2 separate regions of the Homo sapiens genome follow, and region 2 is linked to region 1. Evidence: promoter capture Hi-C in 16 types of primary human blood cells and fetal thymus (Javierre and others, 2016). All regions are on one chromosome and are shown on one strand. Each heading gives the region's core, a stretch centred on a gene start or on the middle of the fragment in contact. The rest is flanking DNA. Distances are from core to core; before and after follow the strand shown. Region 1 holds the start of XPO4 (exportin 4). Region 2 overlaps CRYL1 (crystallin lambda 1).

Region 1 (3,389 bases), core at 342-2,841:
GAACAACCTAACAGCACTGGTTTGAATACTGAAACAGCTGTCAGGACCACTTGCGTGGAATGTCCTAGAGGCAACTGGAGCACCGGAGGGAAGGTTAATTACTTGATACTCTAATATGCCTTTCAACACGGATTCCACAAACACGACAATGCTGATTTTTGTCCTTTTTTTTTTTTTTCCTGAGACAGGATCAGCCTCTCACCCAGGCTGGAGTGCCGTGGTGTGATCTCGCCCCACTGCACTCTCGACCTCCTGGGCAATCCTTCCGCTTCAGCCTCCCGAGAAGCTCGGACCACAGGCGCAAGACACCACACCGGGCTTTTTTTTTTTTTTTTTTTGGTAGAGACAGGGTCTCACGATGTTGCCCAGGCTGGTCTCGAACTCCTGAGCTAAAATGAGGCCTGCCTTGGCCTCCCAAAGTGCTGGGATTACAGGCATGAGCCACAGCGCCTGGCCGACAAAGCTCATCTTACTGCATTTGAGAAGCCAGGTAGTCAAGGTCAGGCTTTCCTGTCCCTGCTTTCTCCCTCTCCTATGTGAGCCAGCCCTTAAAGAGTGAAAACGGCAAGAGCCAAAGACGGGTTTTCCTCCTAGGGTCTCCTAGCGACCCGCTGCCCAGATACATTTGGATGATTGTCCTGCAGAAGGCCAAAGCCCTCCATTATGAAAACGAAGCGTTCGGCCGGGGGCGGTGGCTCACGCCTGTAATCCCAGAACTTTGGGAGACCGAGGCGGGCGGATCACCTGAGGTCAGGAGTTCGAGACCAGCCTGGCCAACATGGTGAAACTTCGTCTCTACTAAAAGTACAAAAATTAGCCGGGCGTGGTGGCGGGCGCCTGTAATCCCAGATACTCAGGAGGCTGAGGCAGGGGAATCGCTTGAACCCGGGAGACGGAGGTTGCAGTGAGCCGAAATAGGGCCATTGCACTCCATCCTGGGCGATAGAGTGAGACCCTGTCTCCAAAAAAAAAAAAAAAGAAAGAAAGAAAACGAAGCGTTCTATCCTGGAATGTTCTCCCATGGCAAGAAGGAACAGAGAAGCAGGAGACAGAGATACTTTGAAAGGAGGTGCGCTCTGAGGAGGGGAAAGCGGGAAGAGCGATTCCAAGTTTAGGAAATCCTGCACGGCGCTGGAGCGTGGAAGGGCAAGGAGGAGCCAGGGGAGGCGGTGTGCAGGGCTGAGAACGGAGGGAGCGAACTGGCGTCGTGGATCTGCGGGTCCCCGGGCGGGCTGTACTAGGGTAGTGGGGAGAGGGCCGGGGGCACCGCGAGGCCGGGGCGCCGGACACCACGCATGCGCGGGGCTGGGAGCTTAGCGGGGCGCGCGGCTGCAGCAGTCTGGGCAGACCGCCTCGGCCTCGCCCGGTGCCGGCTGCGGCCGCCCCCGCCCCAGCGCGGCGGCCGGGCTCACACTAGTCCCCTCCCAGCCACCCGGAACCCGGCAGCCCGGCCAGACCCGCCGAGGCCGCGACGCCGGTGTCGACAGCGGCTGCGACGGCCCTGGGAGCGCGTGAGGCTCCGGGGTCGCGGCGGCGATTGGCCGGCCGCGGCGCCCGCTCCCAGAATGCAGCGCATGGCGCGTCATTGAAGAGAGACCATGATGGCGGCGGCGCTGGGGCCCCCAGAAGTGATCGCTCAGCTGGAGAACGCGGCTAAAGTTCTGATGGTGAGGACGCCGCGCCCCTCAGACCCCGGGATTCGCGGGCCCCCGGTCGGCCCTGCCACTCCAGGCCTTGCTGCTCGCTGGGCTGGCGACTGGCAAGGGCCTGCAGGGAGCCTGGAAGTGGAGGAGGAGGTGGCGGTGGCGTGGCGCAGGATTCTTCAGCCTACTTTCCTCCTGCCGTCGTCCCCTCCTTCCAGGAGCTGTCCCCTTCCCCTGGCTGCCCAGCACCCCAGTCGGGCGTGGGAATATAGTGGTGTAGCAAAGAGAATTTCTTCACCTTACACCCTGCCCCACAGACTGGGTCGCAGAGCAAGGCGCCGGGAAGGAGTTGGGGTTATCCCCGCAGGGCTTCGGTAGGGGAAATTTGTAGGGCTGTGTGAGCGCTCTTGGGGAGTTGGTGTCGGGAGGGATTGGATGGCACAGCCTGGGTGCTGTTAGCAACCCTTGTTTCCTGTGCATTCGCATCCTCTAGCGCTTCCCTGACATGCAGCCACCTCTGGAGTAATTGCAGCCGGCAGCACGTGGAAGGGCCGGGCCGGCTGGAGGGAGGGAGGGGAATCGTTGAGACCAAGGTCATTGGGGCAAAACTTGGTCTAGTGCTAAGCTCCTTAAAGCTCCCGCGATTTGGAGAACTGAGTCTATGCTACTCTTTGACTTCATGCTTACACTACAATAAGCAGTTTGATGAGATTGTTTACTAAGGGAATTTGAGAAGGCCGAGTCAAAGGATAAAAGTATTACATGCAAGGAGGAGAAGTAAGGATAAACTACGTTCAGTTAGTAAACAGTGTTTCTATTTGCTGGCTCAGCTTTGTTTTTGCAAATTATGACTTCGGTGTTTGTAGATGTTTTGGGAAGTTAGAGGTTCATTTGATACCTGGATTGATTCAGACTTTCTAAGAATTGGATACAGCCAGCTTTGTTACCTTTTTGGACTTTTTTCCTTTTGGTTTGGTGTTAGGGTGTTTGAGCATCACATTTGAGAATATTCGAACTAATTCTAGCGTAGTTTGTAGTTCTAATATTTTACACCAGATATTTTTGTTTCTTTAGAAATCGAGAAGTCTAATAAAAGCAGGATTTACTTGCTTCATTATGAATATTAACTTAATGTACGTTTTGTCACAAAACAGACTAGTGAAGGTTTTCACACTTTTGCAAATTAAGCAGAAGTAACTAGCTAGTATTCCCCTTAATAAAAGATTCTTAAAAATCCCTGACATAGAGCGTTTTGTAAAATTCCTGAAATTTTCCTAGGAGCTAGGGGCTCCGTTTTCATTGGATTCTGGAAGGAGTATGCCACCCAAAACACGGCTGTAGTTCTTACACTGATCAGGTAAAATCAGTGTCCTTCGTCACTGGCTTAATATAAACTAGTATTTGTGTTTTCCAATATCTTCCCTCTTCCCTGGCAAAGCTGCTTTTATCCCCTATAAGGAGTAGGTGAGAAGAATAGTAGTAAGTACCGTTTATTGAGTGCTAGATATTGGGCTTGATGCTTTACATACTTTACATATTTTATTAATTCTTGCAACAGCTTTGCTTTACAAGGTTGAGAAACTGTAAGTGGCCCGGGTTACACGATTACTAAATGGCTGAATTAGGTCTTGAACTCAGTTCTGTCTGGCTCTAAAGCTGTGTGTCTTTCCACTCTACCCCATCTGTCATATGTTGTATAAATAATTTGTCTAAATGCTTTTTATCTTTTCAGAGGAGAGTAGTATT
Region 2 (3,389 bases), core at 1-2,500, 410 kb after region 1:
ATTTTGGGTTTATACCCAGAAGTTGAATTGCTGGATCATACTGTAATTCTGTTTTTGGGAACTGCCATATCTGTTTTCCATAGCGGTTGCACCATTTTACAGTCTCACCAGCAGTGCACAATGGTTCCAGTTTCTCCACATCCTTGCCAACAATTGCTAGTTTCTATTTTTGGTAGCCCCTAATGGGTGTGAGGTGGTATCTCACTGTGGTTCTGCTTGGCATTTCCCTGATGATTCCTGATGTTGGGCTTTATCTGTTTTTAAATGTGGTGTTGAATACTCACAGTGATCCTTCTCTCTGCCTTTCCAGAAAGGAGATGAAGTTGCTGGAGCAGGCAGGTTCTCTGAAAGGCTCCCTGAGTGTGGAAGAGCAGCTGTCACTCATCAGTGGTTGTCCCAATATCCAAGAAGCAGTAGAGGGTGCCATGCACATTCAGGTGAGTGAAGGACACTGGCGCCGCATCTGTGGGGCCTGAGACATTGTCTCCCAGCCTCTCCGGAGGAACAGGGCAGGATACAGAGCAGTGGCAGGTGTGGGCATTTTGCATCTTCAAGGGCAGGATTTTGTTTTATGTGATAGGAAATGTGATCCCCAAAACACCCTCTATCCTGGGTTCTCATCAAACTAGCGTGACAATGTTCTGTTTCAAGAGACCAATGCCTTATCCGTGAGGCCACTAGGGATTCTGGTGACAATGTTGTATTTTAGAGGCATTAACAGTTTTAGCAAAAATAGGTTTTCTGGACTGCTAATACTATTTTATTTTGTTTTATCATCTTATCAAATGACAGATTATATTATTGTTCTCATATGTAATTGAGCAAAAGCTTACATCATCAAAAAGAAAACCTTTCACTTGCATGTAGCCTTTCCAACAACTTTACTTTAAAAAAGAGAAATCCTCATGAGGGTTGTTTGCACAGCGGGATGAGCCTGGAGAGGTGAGTGGTCCCTGCAGGTGGAGCTGGGAGCAGCCCCTGTGGCTTGGCCCTCTTTCCAGGCATCCCGCTCCTGGAGCTCCTGTGCCCACGCACAGGCCCTGCCCTGTTGAAGAATCCTGAGGCATACCCTTGTCTTTTCAAAGGCTGCACTTACTGCTATAAGGTTTATGCAAATTTACCTAAAGCTAAAAGAGTCATTATTCCCAGTATCTTTCCTTGATATTTTGTGTTCTGAGATTTGCACATTTCACGTCGTTACTCTGTTGATATTCTAGCTGAGAATTTGGAAGCAAACCGAAAAGGCTGTGTGTGTTCTCTGGTCATTTCCTGCTCTAAGATTCGGGTCAAATACAGAAGATGGAGATTTTAGGTCTCTATGACTCTAAAATTTCTTAAAATTGTTAAATTCTCAATTTGCTAAAAATTCATTAAACAAATGTGTGTCACAACAGAACACAAGGAGAGGACTGTTTTTCAACTTCTTATCTCTTTCTAATATATTATCCTCTATCTCTTGATATGGTGAAGTTTGTATGAAGTTGAAGGGACTTTAAAGAGACCTGAGGGCTCCTAATGAGTTCCCAGTGCCACCTGTTTCTACCCGTAGTTGCAGGTGCTATAAGAGGAGTTGCTTCTGAAGAGCACAGATGTTCTCCAGGCCTGGTCTTGGCAGAGTTGCTTCTGAAGAGCACAGATGCTCTCCAGGCCTGGTCTTGGCAGAGAAGCTTCTTTCACATGAATTTAGTTTTATTTTTTATTTTTTTGAGACAGAGTCACTCTGTTGGCCCAGGCTGGAGTGCAGTGGTGTGATCTCGGCTCATTGCAGCCTCCACTTCCTGGATTCAAGCGATTCTCCTGTCTCAGCCTGTGGAGTGGCTGGGATTACAAGTGTGCACCACCACACCCAGCTAATTTTTGCAGTTTTAGTAGAGACAGGGTTTCACCATGTTAGCCAGGCTGGTCTCAAACTCCTGACCTCAAGTGATCCGCTGGCCTTGGCCTCTCGAAGTGCTGGGATTACAGGCGTGAGCCACGGTAAACTGCATGAGTTAAGTTTTTTTTGCTTTTTGTTTTTTGTTTTTTTTTGAGATAGAGTCTCGCTCTGTCACCCAGGCTGGAGTTCAGTAGTGTGATCTTGGCTCATTGCAACCTCCGCCTCCTGGGTTCAAGCGATTCTTGAGCCTCAGCCTCCCAAGTAGCTTGGATTATAGGCATAAACCACTGTTCCCAGCCGTGAGTTTAGTTTTTAAGGAAAGTATTTAGTTATATAATGTGATTGAAATATTAATAAGTGATCTATTATTATAATATTTCTACTTTCACATTTCACAGAATGCTTTTGTTCAAACTCTGGGCTGATATCTCCAACTTCAGCATGTTTGTCTTCATTACAATCACTTTTTGAGTCTCTCTGAACAGAGTTCCCAGACCATGTTACCTTTGCCTCTTGGAGATGTTTGCTATGCAGAGCTTTTTGAACCCATCTACAATGCTGGCACTGCAAATTTTATCCCCAGCCTCAAAGACTAATTCTCAAACATTTAGATGTTTTTTCCTTTTGTAATAATACACTTGTGATTCCATAGCATGGCAACTTGCTGTGCTTTTTTTTTTCTTTTAAAGAATCTTTCTATAGCTACTTTATAAATTTCCTAGCAGTAACAATTGTAAAGTCATCCCCTAGGAATAATTCATCTATCCATGTTAAATTTCTTTGTCTCCCCATCCCATTTTTTTGATAGTTTATCATATGATTTCTATAAACATCCAAAACTACCCTAACTGAATTAGTTCTGGTTAATGTGTCTCCCTCAAAGAGTATATTGTTTTTTATAAAGTGGTGAACCCTCCATAATATGAGAACATTATAATAGACTTGGGTAATAAGGCAAGTTTTTCTGTTAAAGAGTAATTTGGGGGGAATATGTGAATTTAGAAGGCATGTAAAGCACTTACATAGTACTTGGCACACAGAAAATGCTCAGGAAATGGTAATTATTTTATAATGTGGCCATTTATAACAATTTTGGTAATAAAGAATGACATGGGGCAGTATATGGCGTTCTGTACATGGTTGGCACTAGTGAAAACTGCTCTTTAACTACAGTCTATCTTTATTTTATAGATTAAATGAGTGTATTTACAAGGCATGACATGTTGAGCCATATCTATTATGTAGAACACAGAGCCAAGCCGGATGAGGAGAGGAAACTAGAGAAAGATGATGTAAACTAGTAGGTTTAATTCCTATGAGAGTTTATATTCTTCAGAAATTGTTGTACCTCCAGTACCAGAGAAAGGAGTGGGTAGGAATAGTTCTGACCGGGAGGCTTCGGGAAGGTTTAATGCAGGTAGGATTAGAGCTTGTCTTGACTTTTGACAAGTGGATTTTGGGGTGGGGGTGGGAGGATTGTGTGGGAGGAAGAGATGAATGAGATGAGAAGTCC

What was found. The method cuts DNA at HindIII sites, captures the fragments that hold promoters and counts their contacts. A CHiCAGO score of 5 or more calls a contact.
Region 2: a fragment that was not itself captured here is called in contact with the fragment with the promoter of XPO4 in region 1 in 4 of 17 cell types (erythroblasts, megakaryocytes, endothelial precursors and 1 more); the score reaches 10.5 in erythroblasts.

What each region holds. Positions count from the first base shown.
Region 1 is chr13:20,900,948-20,904,336 of GRCh38, reverse strand. It overlaps XPO4 (exportin 4), which reads left to right and starts at 1,591. Exons shown (of 23, transcript NM_022459.5): 1 at 1,591-1,667. The coding sequence starts at 1,599. RefSeq lists a silencer at 1,189-1,568 and an enhancer at 1,779-1,828. The HindIII fragment of the contact is 36,571 bases long and covers 1-3,389 here.
Region 2 is chr13:20,486,418-20,489,806 of GRCh38, reverse strand. It overlaps CRYL1 (crystallin lambda 1), which reads left to right. Exons shown (of 8, transcript NM_015974.3): 3 at 311-437. Among named protein-coding and RNA genes, the nearest start is that of CRYL1, 38 kb to the left of the region's middle. The HindIII fragment of the contact is 839 bases long and covers 831-1,669 here.